Linked DNA regions of Homo sapiens: all the other regions are linked to region 1. Evidence: promoter capture Hi-C in 16 types of primary human blood cells and fetal thymus (Javierre and others, 2016). All regions are on one chromosome and are shown on one strand. The core of a region is centred on a gene start or on the middle of the fragment in contact, and the rest is flanking DNA. Distances in the headings are between cores, read along the strand shown. Region 1 holds the start of KCNT2 (potassium sodium-activated channel subfamily T member 2). Region 2 has its middle 44 kb from the start of LINC01724. Region 3 has its middle 68 kb from the start of LINC01724. Region 4 overlaps KCNT2 (potassium sodium-activated channel subfamily T member 2). Region 5 overlaps KCNT2 (potassium sodium-activated channel subfamily T member 2).

Evidence for each region. The method cuts DNA at HindIII sites, captures the fragments that hold promoters and counts their contacts. A CHiCAGO score of 5 or more calls a contact.
Region 2: a fragment that was not itself captured here is called in contact with the fragment with the promoter of KCNT2 in region 1 in 1 of 17 cell types (M1 macrophages); the score reaches 5.4 in M1 macrophages.
Region 3: a fragment that was not itself captured here is called in contact with the fragment with the promoter of KCNT2 in region 1 in 2 of 17 cell types (fetal thymus and erythroblasts); the score reaches 5.6 in fetal thymus.
Region 4: a contact is called between a fragment that was not itself captured here and the fragment with the promoter of KCNT2 in region 1, in 1 of 17 cell types (megakaryocytes). The highest score is 5.2, in megakaryocytes.
Region 5: a fragment that was not itself captured here is called in contact with the fragment with the promoter of KCNT2 in region 1 in 1 of 17 cell types (megakaryocytes); the score reaches 5.0 in megakaryocytes.

Annotation. Positions count from the first base shown.
Region 1 is chr1:196,607,019-196,609,770 of GRCh38, forward strand. It overlaps KCNT2 (potassium sodium-activated channel subfamily T member 2), which reads right to left and starts at 1,422. Exons shown (of 28, transcript NM_198503.5): 1 at 1,197-1,422. The coding sequence starts at 1,291. RefSeq lists an enhancer at 1,757-2,273. The HindIII fragment of the contact is 4,315 bases long and covers 1-2,619 here.
Region 2 is chr1:196,131,145-196,133,896 of GRCh38, forward strand. No RefSeq gene overlaps it. Among named protein-coding and RNA genes, the nearest start is that of LINC01724, 44 kb to the left of the region's middle. The HindIII fragment of the contact is 555 bases long and covers 1,069-1,623 here.
Region 3 is chr1:196,155,681-196,158,432 of GRCh38, forward strand. No RefSeq gene overlaps it. Among named protein-coding and RNA genes, the nearest start is that of LINC01724, 68 kb to the left of the region's middle. The HindIII fragment of the contact is 4,007 bases long and covers 1-2,752 here.
Region 4 is chr1:196,313,242-196,315,993 of GRCh38, forward strand. KCNT2 (potassium sodium-activated channel subfamily T member 2) reads right to left here. Exons shown (of 28, transcript NM_198503.5): 21 at 2,651-2,752. Among named protein-coding and RNA genes, the nearest start is that of LINC01724, 230 kb to the left of the region's middle. The HindIII fragment of the contact is 3,629 bases long and covers 1-2,752 here.
Region 5 is chr1:196,336,706-196,339,457 of GRCh38, forward strand. The region is part of intron 16 of KCNT2 (potassium sodium-activated channel subfamily T member 2); the gene reads right to left. Among named protein-coding and RNA genes, the nearest start is that of MIR4735, 240 kb to the right of the region's middle. The HindIII fragment of the contact is 4,991 bases long and covers 1-2,752 here.

The sequences.
Region 1 (2,752 bases), core at 172-2,671:
AAAACATCCATCTCCTTTCAAATTACTAATATGAGACCAAACAAGATGCCCATAATTGATGCTCAAGATAAAATCCTCAGTGTGTAGAGACAGGAGTTGGTATTGGGAGCTGAAAAGGTGAAGAAAAGAAATAGAGTGTATTGGTCAGTGGTGAATGAGGAGGGGATTTTGGATTGGACCAATAATGGATCTTTTATATAACTAAAATAGCACATCAATACTAAACTAAACTTCAATGAAACATTTCAATTGAGTTGAGAACCTAGTTAGTATACATGTATTATTTTAAAACAAAGAAATGTGGCATGTGATATATGGGATGACTATTCCAGAAAATACTAAATTCGCTGAAATACAAAATGTGCTTGAGACAGAAATAGACAGAGGAATTTCAGAAGTTTGTGCAAAGCAGTAATGCTATAAATAAAACACATGAACAATATTTTGCTAACAATAAATATTCTAGTTTTGAAACTTAATTTTAATTTTGAGACATATATTCTGTTTCAGTTAAAAAAATATACTAGTTATGAAAAGGTTGTATCATGTTATACAAACATCATTATTCATAATGGTCAGAGTCACCTGTTCAAAGTGAGTATATTGTATTAAAAAGGTTGTCATTTTCACTAACTACCTGTTACATATTTAAACCAATTGTCTACTTAAAACTCCAAAATGTTTAAACAGCATAAAATTTCCAGTGCCAAGTAGATACCTACTCAAGACAACACAGACAAGGAGGAGGTAAATAGACTCAGGAGATTTTAAGTTTCTAATGTGCTTTTTCAAACAACTTGCATGCAATTTTGAGTTTGATTAACCACACCTAAGGAAAAAATGCAAATTTTCTGGAAATGATATTGCATACCATTTGGGTGTATTGTACCTCTGATACCAGCCTTATACACATCCTAGAAAAGCACAGATAGACAAAAGAATAAGCACCAAATGAATGCAATAAATACCTTGCAAGAATAAGAAAAGTGTAAAGAAAAAGAGTTCCTTATCTATAGCAACAGTTATATAGAGTCAAAATGGAGAGACAAATCAGAGTCTCTTTTACTCCCTCCCCCAGCCTAGTCTCCCTCTCTGGCTCCGTTTTCCTTTTCTCCCTCCTTTCCCCACTTCGGCCCTCCCATTTCCGTCTCTTTTTCAGCAATATTTACAGAACAATCCTCCACCACACCACTCACCTGTCGTCGTTTTGCCATCCTTGGTCCCCTAGCAGCAAATCTCGAAACCTGTACCTGGGAGGCAGAGGGGGCACTTCGCTCTCCAAATCAACCATCCTTCCTCAAAGAGTGGGAAACATCAAACAACAAATGGAGGAGAGGAGGGAGAAAGAAAGAAAATATTGCGGAGTACAGGGAGAGGACTAACAAGACGCTGTGGCCGAGAGAGGGATGGGAGAAGGGGAAGGGGACAGGGAGGGGGAGGGGGTCCGCTTGGAGCCGGAAGCTAAGGCTTGAAAGGGGGCTGGCTCCTCTTTCCCGAGGGTGTAATGGGGATGATGCAAACCCAACCCAGGAGCAAAAGTCTGGCTCTGACAAGAATCAACGCTGCCAAGGAACCGCCCCCAGGCTCGGCACCGCCTCTGGTCCCCAGGACTAGGGGGAGGCGGGTATAAAAAGTTACTTCGCCGAAAAAGACGCGCGGTGCCTAGAAAGAGGGGAGAGGGGTGGGAGTGAGCGCCGCTTGATGGTGAAGCACTTTCCTTAAAGGCAGTTGCCAGATCCTCCCAGAGGGCAGCCTCCCGGCTACTGTTCCCTCGGGCGGGCTTGCATCCGGCACAGCCCTGAGCTGGCGGGAATCGGGGGCGGTGGGTTTCGGCCCCAGACGCGGCCAACCCGGCTCTCCCCGCAATCTCCCTGTGGAGATGGAGCTGGAGGCCCAGCCAATGAGACTCCCCCTCATTAGCATAGCACAGTGACGGCACGGGGGTGCCTTGGGGACAACCAATGGGGGCGAGCTAATTAGCGGATTGCGGGGCTCCAGACCCTTCTCTGGGAGGAGGGGGGCCAGGGTGCTTGGAGTGTTCCACTATGCCACGAGCTCCCTCGCTTTGATTGCCTTCAGTCCAGGTGGGCGGGATGAAAAAATTGCACGTTTCTGGAAAGGGAATCCCCACTCTCAGCCCCAGGAAAATCCCATTTTTTTCTCACATTCTGAAAGAAGGGAGGTGTTTCCCTGAACTCGGGGAAAAAGAAGGGCCACCTTAGGCCGCTGAAGAGAAGCATTTAGATGACAGGGAAAGCACATGGAAACGCACTGAGGATTTTACAGTGGTGAGTTGCTGTTACTGCTGTCGCTGCTACTAGCAGCGTTGTGGGCTTCCAGGTGGCCTGGCCTCAGCCTTCGGTCCCCTCCTATTAGTGGTTCACACGGAGGAAGAAGTGAGCCCGAGAGAACAGGGTCTGTTTTTCAGTAAGAACCACTGCTTACATGAACCCTGCTACACAAGCTATGGTTCTATTTGCGCTTACCGTTCTTTCCTTCAAAAACTGATTGCATCAGAGTATATACAGACCGAATACCAACCACCTGACAGCCTGGGCCGGAGGATAACCATATGGCTTCTCCTGCCCTTACTTAAGAACCGCTCTGTGTGGAGGAACAAGCTTGTTCCTTGATAAATGGATACGATGTGAGAGACAATAATCAAAGAACATACAGAGGGATTTGGAAATACCTGTGAGGTACACATACTTCTTCGAGGTGGGGGTCAAGGAAGACATTGAAAATGAACCAA
Region 2 (2,752 bases), core at 96-2,595, 480 kb before region 1:
AATTATCTTGTAGGATAATTTGCAATTACTTGGTAAGCATTTGCAATTTGGGCAGGTACATGAGCGAATCAGTAATCAAGTGTCTTTGTCTGATAAACAAAATAATGACCTCCAGAGACACCTAAGTCCTAATTCCCAGAACCAGTGATTATGTTACCTTCCATGGCAAAAGGGACTTTACAGATTTAATTAAAATAGGGTTCTTGAGATAGTGAGATTATCTTGGATTGTATGGGTGGGTTCAATGTAACCATAAGCTTTATAGGAGGGATACAAAATGAGATGGGAGAATGGAAGCAGAAGTTGGAGTGATTTCCTCTGGAGGAAAAGACCATGAGCCAAGAGATGTGTGGGGCTTCACGAAACTAGGAAAGTCAAAGAAAAAGATTCTCCTTTGGAGCCTTGAGAAGGGACATAGCTTTGTTGACATGTTGATTTTTAACCTCTTCAGACGCATTTCAAATTTCTGGCTTTCAGAACTGTAAGATAACAAGTTGATGTTGTTTGAAGCCACAAAACTTGTGGCAATTTGTTGCAGCACCAGGAGGAAACTAACGCACACAGTAATTAAATGGATTATTATCTTGGATTATAAATAATACATTCCTTACCTCTATGTAGAAGCTGAAACTATCCCCAGCAGACATCATTGACATGAGGGTGGGTTATCTGTCTCACTCTCACATAAACATTAACATAACTTTCCTCTGCCTTTTATTATGCCATCATTTGATTGTCAAGAAAGAAAATTAAATGAATTTCATTATAATGACAGATAAGTGTGACATGGTTATATCTTCATGCCAGATGTGGTTATAAGATGATGACAAAAGCCCCAGTACTATGGACATGTTTCATTTTAGCTGTAGATAACATTGGATGCACCTCCATTCTTATAAACATTATAGCAATTCTTTATATGATTTAGTCTTGGAAACTGTTTAGCAAATGACATGCAGGTAGATTCAAAATTGAGAAAATATTGGCAACCATCTGATAACTTTTTGCACAGTCAGTTGTGAAAGTGACTTACAGTGACAAAATATATTACACATACTAAAATATTTAAGCTTTCTGGACATATCATGAATTGTAAGGCAATGGGTATTTTATTTTTGATGCAGCTAAATGTATCTGCAGCTTGATGGCTCTCATAAGTAATAATCTGAATTGCCTATCAGAGGAAAGTGCTGGAGTTATTTACAAAGGAAAAACCAACCCAATAACCCAAGGTGTCACCATTTTATGCAGAAATAAAGTGAATCTGGCAGCAAGAATAATGAAATGAGATAAGCTACACACTTGAAATCTTATATTCCACATTTAAAAAACTTTATAAAAACTCTTTCTGTGGATATATAGGTTTACTGAAATGGAATTTATATAAATTGTGTAGATGATAAGCCAAAGAGCTGACTCTGAAGTCCTTGTTACATCTCCAATCATGGCTCCCCAAATTGTCTGTATGACTCTCATGTCTTCCAGTATAGGTGCTTCAGGCTAACTACCCCTGAGTTTTTCCTTTCCCTCAATTCCTCCAAAATACAACTGATTTTTTCTCCATAGAATGCCTGTCAGGGGTGCTTAAGTGAACCACCCATCCCAAAAGATGCTCTCCATGTAAGCTTTAATTTTATTCAGTAGATGTCATCATTTTTGTTGTAGTTACTGTTATGCTAATACAATAAAAATCTGTTTTCCTCACATTTGACCTATGGCTTCTGTCCGTTTTCAAGTTCCCCACATAAGGCTTTATTTAAGTCCTTTCTTTGTACTATATTTACAAGTAATCTTCATTTTCCCATAAGTCCTAATTATTGCTGTATTGAGAAATTATTGCTTAAGGGGAAAGCATAGATGTTCTGGAAAGAACATAGCCATGGGAGACAATCTCTGCTATTATTTGGTTGTGCATGTCAAGACAAGTTACTTGCCACGTTGAACTTCATATTCCTTCTGTATCAAAGTGGGTTTCAACAATTTCTGTCAGGATAAAGGACAATTCGGTGTTTACAGGAAGTAAATTAGACAAAATATGGGAAAGCATCTAATAAATAAATGTCGCATTTCTAATATTGGTATCATGAACACAGAGCAAGCCCTAGCCAAAATACTAAAGAAAATTATATTTATTTTTGGTAACATCCTATCCAGCAACGGCAGCAACAGCACCTACAAGCATCCATCCCAACCATGTGATTCCCTTAGCCTTGTGATTCTCAAAGTGTTCTTTGGGATCCCTGGAAGTCCTTTGCAGAGGGTCTATGAGGTCAAAAACATTTTCAAAATAATAGTAAAACAATATTTGCTTTTTTCACTCTCGTTCTTCACAAGTGTACAGCGTAATTTCCCAGAAGGTACATGATGCCTTTATTGCAACAGAGTAAAAGAAGAAGAAAATATGAAATTGTAGCTGTCTCCTATTAAGCCAATCTTTAAGAAATTTACAAAATTGTAAAACAGTGCCACTCTTCATCTTATGGTTTTTGAAAAATATAGTTATTTGTCATATAAATATGTTACTCATGTTAAAATGTAATGAGTGTATTATGGTTACTTTTAAATAAGTTATTTAATAATATTTTATATTTTTCATTTTTAATTTCTAATACACTAATTGAGATCATTCAAAAACACATAACTTTGAAGGGCCTTCAATAATTTTACTAGTGTAAAGGGGGCCTGAGATAAAAAGGGTCTGGAACTGCTATTTTAAATTTTCTTCTCTTGGTGGTTCACTCACTACAACCTG
Region 3 (2,752 bases), core at 152-2,651, 450 kb before region 1:
AAGAGAACATGTCTTAGTTATGTGACAACCTATTGTTTCTAATACTAAAGCCCAGAAACGAAGACTTGCCCATCTGATCACAGACCGCCCTGAAGAACTGCAGGCCTTCCTACTAAGACAGAGCTTTCATTGATAAACTTAAGGCACAAAAGTACACTGGGGCACATGTTCTCTACAGGATTACAGGTCTCAAATGAAGAGGAGAAGGGCAGGGCTGAGATTTAAACATCTTCTTAGTTCCTGCTCCTAAATGTTTCATTCTGAGAGGCCAAGAATATTGCTCTAATAACTGTCTACCAGTTGGGAAGAATCAGGAGTAAGGAGTAGGTGTTCTAACATGTAACTACAATAAATCTTTAACTATAATCATAGATACAAACATGTAGATCCTAAAAGTACAAATCAAAATTTTAATTATAGTGTCATATAAAACAGAGGATCTAAATATTCCTCCTATATTCCACTTCATGGTACATTATATAGTATCTTAGAAATCATGAGGAATATAGGAAGGTGGGTTTAGAGTTCAGAGGCAATAACTTAAAAACTGATCATATGAAAATAGTTACATTTTGATGTATATAAATAATGAGATATTATGCAGCTCTGGAAATTATGTTTTGAAAAATTCTTAACAGCTTTGGTAGCTATCGCAGTATAATACTAAGTTTAAAAACTAAGACACAAAAGTGCTTATGCAGTGTAGTGTAATATTTAAAATACATACTACATTGAGATAGCCCTAAAAAGAAAAACACAAATGTATTAATAACAAATGTTTGGGTACTGGTATTGTGAATTATAATGCTCTCCTATAGTTTTATTTATATTCTAAAATTTCTAGAAGCATGTGTATGATTAATTGATAACAGCACAGCTTATTTAGATATGTTGTGTGCATTTACCTTATTCAAATGAAAACACTGTTGAAAATAAGCCTTACTGATGAAACATGCTCAGTTTCTTTTTTTTTAACATTTCCTCTTTGTGATTGTTAAAAGGAAAACTTCAGCTGAATTAAATTTAAAGGAGTTTAACTGAGCAATGAACAATTCATGAATCCAGCAGCCCCATAATCACAGCAGATTCAGAGAGACTCCAGGGGTGCCTCGTGGTCAGAACAAATTTATAGACTGAAAAAGTAAAGTGACATACAGAAACTGGAAGTGAGGTACAGAAACAGTTGGATTGATAACAGCTCGGAGTTTGCCTTATTTGAACATAGTTTGAACACTCAGCAGTGTATGACTGGTTGAAGTATGGTTGCTGAGATTGGCCAAGACTCAGCAATTGTTGCAGGCACATACTTCTAAGTTAGGTTTTCAATCTTGTCTACCTATTAAGTTAGGTTTCAGTTCATCCACAAGAACTCAAATATAGAAGTACGGCCATATTTAGTTTTTGTTAACATTTCCCCACTTTTGGTCATTTTCTTAATTTTGAGAGATTGACCAAAACTTTGGACATTGATGTCACTATCACCTTTGTAAATGTACATATTTGGTCTTGAAACCCACTGAAAAACAAAACAGTGGGTACTGCAAAGGTAGAAACAAGGAATAAGTAGAGGGTACCTCCTTGTGCTGGAATGTTCTGTTTACAGGAGAAAACAAAACCAAGTCTGTTCTAATCTAAAATCTACGTGTTTCTTTAAAGTCTTAGTTTGATTGTGAAAATTTCAAACTAAGACTTTAAAGAAACACCTACTCATCTGACAAAGGGCCAATATCCAGAATCTACAATGAACTCAAACAAATTTACAAGAAAAAAACAAACAACCCCATCAAAAAGTGGGCAAAGGATATGAACAGACACTTCTCAAAAGAAGACATTTATGCAGCCAAAAGACACATAAAAATGCTCATCATCACTGGCCATCAGAGAAATGCAAATCAAAACCACAATGAGATACCATCTCACACCAATTAGAATGGCAATCATTAAAAAGTCAGGAAACAACAGGTGCTAGAGAGGATGTGGAGAAATAGGAACACTTTTACACTGTTGGTGGGACTGTAAACTAGTTCAACCATTGTGGAAGTCAGTGCGGCGATTCCTCAGGGATCTAGAACTAGAAATACCATTTGACCCAGTCATCCCATTACTGGGTATATACCCAAAGGACTATAAATCATGCTGCTATAAAGACACATGCACACGTATGTTTATTGTGGCATTATCCACAATAGCAAAGACTTGGAACCAACCCAAATGTCCAACAATGATAGACTGGATTAAGAAAATGTGGAACATATACACCATGGAATACTATGCAGCCATAAAAAAGGATGAGTTCATGTCCTTTGTAGGGACATATATGAAATTGGAAATCATCATTCTCAGTAAACTATCGCAAGGACAAAAAACCAAACACCGCATGTTCTCACTCATAGATGGGAAGTGAACAATGAGAACACATGGACACAGGAAGGGGAATATCACACTCTGGGGACTGTTTTGGGATGGGGGGAGTGGGGAGGGATAGCATTAGGAGATATACCTAATGCTAAATGACGAGTTAATGGGTGCAGCACGCCAGCATGGCACATGTATACATATGTAACTAACCTGCGCATTGTGCACAAGTACCCTAAAACTTAAAGTATAATAATAAAAATAAATAAATAAATAAAATAAAATAAAATAAATGAAGTCTTAGTTTGATTATGTCACATTTAGCCTGAACAACTCCATTTTTGTTTTGTTTGGTTTGGTTTGTTGGGGCCTAGTGCGTGAGCTCAGTCCAAAACAA
Region 4 (2,752 bases), core at 161-2,660, 290 kb before region 1:
TAGAAGAAATTAGATAGAAAATGAGTAGCACTACTCAGAGTGTTGAATGCTAGAAACTGAGAATGTGGAGTGTAAAATTATTCATAGTTCAAGGTTTAGGCTATGACCATGAGAATGGGTGGTGAAGGTCAGATATTCAAAGGATCATCTAGGTAAGATTGTTGAAATCATCAATAATTATGATAATCAGGGTTGGCAAGAGTCATAGTAAATCAGGAACTAAAATCTCCAAGGAATGCAGAAGAGTGATCTGGAGGATGATAATTAACCACATCTGTAAAATGCAACTCCCAAGTCTGTGTGATTTTGGTCATTTATGAGCAAAAGTGATTCTTCTTATATCATAGAAACCTATAAATGTCTGTCTTACTTTTTATCATGTAAAACTAGCCTAGCTTAGCATACACAGATTAGCAGCTTAACACACAACACAAAAAAAAAGTTTCATATAATTTTTTCCTAAAAAATACTGTTATATACTTAGAGAAATAATAGTAATGTCATGATAGGGCATAAGAAAGGAAAGAACAGAGGTAATTTCTTTGCAATTTGGGTTTTTAATAGTTCTTTTGAAAAATTCTGCTCAAAACTATTCAGTCTAGATTACTATATATATACCATAAAAACTATATAATTTTTAAAATATACTGCTGAAGACAGATAAGCCTAATAGTTAAGGTATCCAAAGTTATTAATTCATTCATTCATCCATCCATTCATTCATTCAACAAGTGGTAATCACATCTTCAGCTAGGTACTCAGAGTAACATAGCCTTTGCACAATTAGTTGCCATATATGTATCTGTCCATGATTACTATGGTGAGTTAATTTGTTTTAAATTACTAATTACAGCCTTTGAACCTCTCAGTAAGATGGGGATTTATTATTTCCTTGGAATCAAAATAATTCATCCAGAGAATATATAATAAAAGTTAAATCAATAGAAATGTCACCATAATAGAAATAAAATTCATGGTAAATTGAAAGTTTAAATAACATGTTTAATTAAAAAGACCTAGGATCCTCTTTTATATAATTAGCTTTTGCCAAGCATGGAATCAAAAAGCATGATTTTTACCCTACTCACTAGCTATAAATCTCATCCTTGAATTAATTTTCTACCCTGTAATTTTCTTTTATATTCTCTAGAGAAAAAAAATTTATATATCTGTAATATTTTAAACAAGTTCTATATAGTGTCTTTTAAAAATGTACTGTTTAATACAGCTCACTAGTTAACTAGTTAGCTATATTCTAAGTGAACTGCTGCATTATAATAACTTTAAAGTGTGTATTTCTTCTTCTGGAACAAGAGGTTCTTATGCAAATTCAGTGTAGATTTTCCAGGTGCTATGACAGATTCTTTAAATAACTGATCTCTAATCTTTACATTAACACTGCAAGGTCGGTTATTTTCTGCAGCATTTTATAGATGAGAAAAACTGAATCTTAATGAGGTTAGGAAGGTCACAAAGTTAGTGACTGTCAGCTGGAGCCTCTAGGATATACATTGTGCCAGATAAAGTTTGCTGCTGTATAGTCCAAGGTCAGTGGCTTTTCCCTTCTGCCACATGGAAGTGATAATTATACTGCTAGTAATATTAATAGCTAATATTTATTAAGTAATTAAAAATGACCAGGTATGTGCTAAGTAAGGCATTGCATGTTTCTAAATCTTTAATAATATTGTGATTAATATATTGAGATGTAGAGAAGAAAAGTAATTTGCCTAAGATCATACTAAAAATAGGCAACTTAACACAGACACGCATCTAGGCTCTCTCCTTTGAATTTTGAACTCAAATTAGAAGGCAAAATAATTAACCTCAATATATGCTTTACTACAATATGAAAGTATGAAAGTGGAGTGAACATGGATGATGAGAAAGTTGAGATTGTTTCATTTACCTCTGTAATTTGGTAGCTCACGTATTTTCTTCAGGCTTCTGCAAAACTCATACAACTTAAAAAATGGTCTTTTGGATATTTAAAATTTCATATGATTTTAGGGAGAATTGTTCCAAGTGAAACAGATGCCTTGAATGACAGACGAGTTTGACTTTACTTATAGCATGGCTCTTTCTCTAGTCAGGATTGTTTACTCTTACCCAAAGACAACCATAATGGGGATTCATATCCCCATTAAATTAAATTCAATTAATTAAATTCAATGGGTACATTTAATTAATAAAAGACAGGAAAACAGTGAAAATGATGTCATGACTTTGCTCCTAACATGGGTAACTTACCTGTTCACAGCTGTGCAGTCTTTCAGTCCTAGCTATTCAGTATGTAAATGCAAATATTTGGTCACTGCTAGGCTTAATACCAATACGAGAACATGGGCTGCTTGTCAAAACTCATGACTACTAGTACACATGATTTTCAAGAATTTGCTACTGTTAAACTATCTGAGAAAATAGATATATCATTCAATTTGTTTTATGAGAAGCATTACTGATCTGGTGTTAAAAATTTAACTTTATGCAGTGCCAGTCATGCTCAATAAACATTTACTTTATGAAAAAAATGAATAAATGAACATAAAGTTGGTGTGTCTCATGTTCATTCCTCACAGAGTCAGTGTCAAATATTTTACCAATGTTTAGCACAAAGTAAGTGGCAAGGTTGGATGATTCAGCCACTTACCTGAAGAGTGTCTGCACGTTCACAATGGTTTTGGCATCTGCCATGTAGTCTTCCTCGGCACTCATGGTGCTCTCTTTATCCACAACCACCATATTAGCAGCA
Region 5 (2,752 bases), core at 187-2,686, 270 kb before region 1:
ATCATTGCATTGCTAAAGTCAATTGACACTTCTCAGTCCTTATGTTACGACCTATCAGTACTTGGCTTTCAGCCATGACCTATCAGACATGGCTTTACATGGTGTTGTCTTAATGCACTTAGCTCACTTGGATTCCAGGACACCTCACTCATTGGGTTTTCCTACTAGCCTGCCAGTAGCTCCTCTTTGGTCTCCTTTGCTGGTTTCTTCTCATCCCCCTGATACTTAATCTTAGTATACTGCAGAGCTTTGTCTTTTATTTTTTCCTGCCTGTACTCATTTCCTCAAAGACTTCATTTGGTCTTATGGCTTTAAATATATACATAAGATCAGAAATACAAAATTTACTTTTTCAGCCTATCTCTCTCTCTCTCCTGAAATCTAGACTCTTACATACAACTTCCTGTTAGACATCTTCAAGGTGTTCCAAAATACTCTTTATCTTCCCTTCACCCCCGCAAAACCTGCATTCCCCCTAGCCTTTCCTCTAAATTTATGGCCATTCTCTTTCCCTAGTTGCTTAATCCGAAAACCTTATGTTTCTTCACACTTCTCTTTTTCTCACAGTTCAATTTCATTTTGTAAGGAATCCTGATTATCCTCAAAGTACATGCAGAATTTTCTCCTTCTTACCACTTCCACTTGAAAATAGTCTGATCCTTGCTCCAAACCATCTATGTTCAACAGCAGCCTGAGTTGAGCACTCAGCATAGGTGAGATCAGGTCAATGGCTCTGCATAAAGCCTTGCAATAATTCCCACTTCACTGAGAGTAGAAGCTGCAATCCCATATGGACTTAAATAAGCCCAACAGGATCTGGCCTCTTTCTACCTGTTCGTCCTCATCTCCTACTATTCTTCCAGCATTCACTGTGTTTGAGGCACAAAGGGCCCTGTTACTGTTCCTGGAGAACCCCAGCCAGGCTCCCACTTTAGGGCCTTTGTACCAGCTGTTATCTCTTTCTCCAGACCTCCACAGGACTAATTCCTCATTTCTTTCAGGTATCTGCTCAAACATCACTTTCTGGCCTACTAAGCACTTCATTTAAAATCTGCTCCTCCCAAAAATTAATTATCTCCTATACTAGCTCTGTTTTCTTCTTTTAGTTTTTCCTTTATAACTTATAACCCACTAGCATATTAAGTAATTTACTTATTTTTTTATATGTACTTTGGTTATCGCCTGTCTTCTCCATAATAGAATGCAAGCTCTATGAACTAGGGATCTTTGTTTCTTCACTAACGTTTTATCACAAACACTTACACGAGAGTTCTTGGTACATATTAGGTACTCAATAAATACTATTTTGGGTACATATTAGGCACACAATAAGTACTTTTTGAAGACATTAAAAATGAATATTGCTACTGTAGAATAAAAATAAGTAAATGACAAATAGGATTACCTAAGAAGGTCTAGGTAAAACCATGGAATAGTGTTTGGAGGGAGTGATATTTTGACTAAGATATAAAGAATTAGAAGTCATTACTTAGGGAATGTTGGGGTGTGAGGAATAGTTCCATCAGAGGAAACTTAATGTTTTAAGGCCCATTGGTGAAAAAAATATATTAGTGAAGATTGAAAGAAAGTGAGTATGTTTGGAGCTCAGGAGAGCAGCAAAGAGGTGGTAAAATGTGGAGCTAGAAAAGTCAGAAAATATCACTAATAAAAAGCCTATAAAGAAAATGATGAAGTAATTTATTTTCTAAACTAGGATACTGCAGAGTAAAAGGGGGTTCTTTTAATAATTACATCAGGACAATTATATAAACTGAACAATCCTAAGAAACTGGAACATTCCTAAGAAAACTAGGATTGCCTAATGCAAACAAGAACTTTTGGTTATCCTATTTATAAGTTAAGTCACACTACAGAATTTAGACTTTTTTTTCCAATGGGTAGTATAAAGCAGGTGATTTGTTCAGGAAATGATGCTATCAAAATTATATTTAAAAATTTTTACTCTGGTGGCAGGATGGAGAATTAAGTGTAGAGTGGCAAGGCTGGAGGCATGGAAAAAAGACAAGGTTGTTGATCCTGCAGTTCAGGGAGAGAAGGATGGAGGCACAGACCACGATGATGTTGGTGGTGGACATGGAAAAAAACTGAATGATTCTAGGGGCTATTTACTGACCAGATTTAATAGAATTTGGTTAATGATGAGGTATGAGAAGAGCGGGTGGTGAAAAGTCAGAATGGTGGCCTTACAGATCAAAGGATAATGGTGTCATCTGCTTTTTAGCAAAAAAAAAAAAAAAAAAAAAAAAAAGGAGAAGGAGAAAAACGGTGTTGAATGACTGAATGAGAGTGTAAGGATCAGTTTAATTTGAATATGCTGTGCCAGTTTTTCCCACAAAATACTCAAACAGAAATAACTAGTAGACAGTTCGCGTTGCTGTAAAGAGATGTTGAGTTAATGCTTTAGACAGAGGAATAATCAGTTTACGGACAATAGAATCCATGAGAACAGAAGTGACCACACAATGAAAATGAATGTGCACAAAGCAGAAAAAAAGGCATTAGAGTGTTTCAGGAAGAACATGGTCAATATTCTTGTCATATACTGTGAAGACAATCATTTTAGATGTAGTGACAAAGAGGAACATGGTGACCTTGCCTGAATAGTTTCAGTGATATGACTGCAGGTGTCAGATTGAACTGGGTAGAATCATGGACATAGGACAACAATAAAATTTAAAGCCTGCCACTAAACACAACACTTTGGAGAAATTTGTCTCTGAAGTTGTTATCA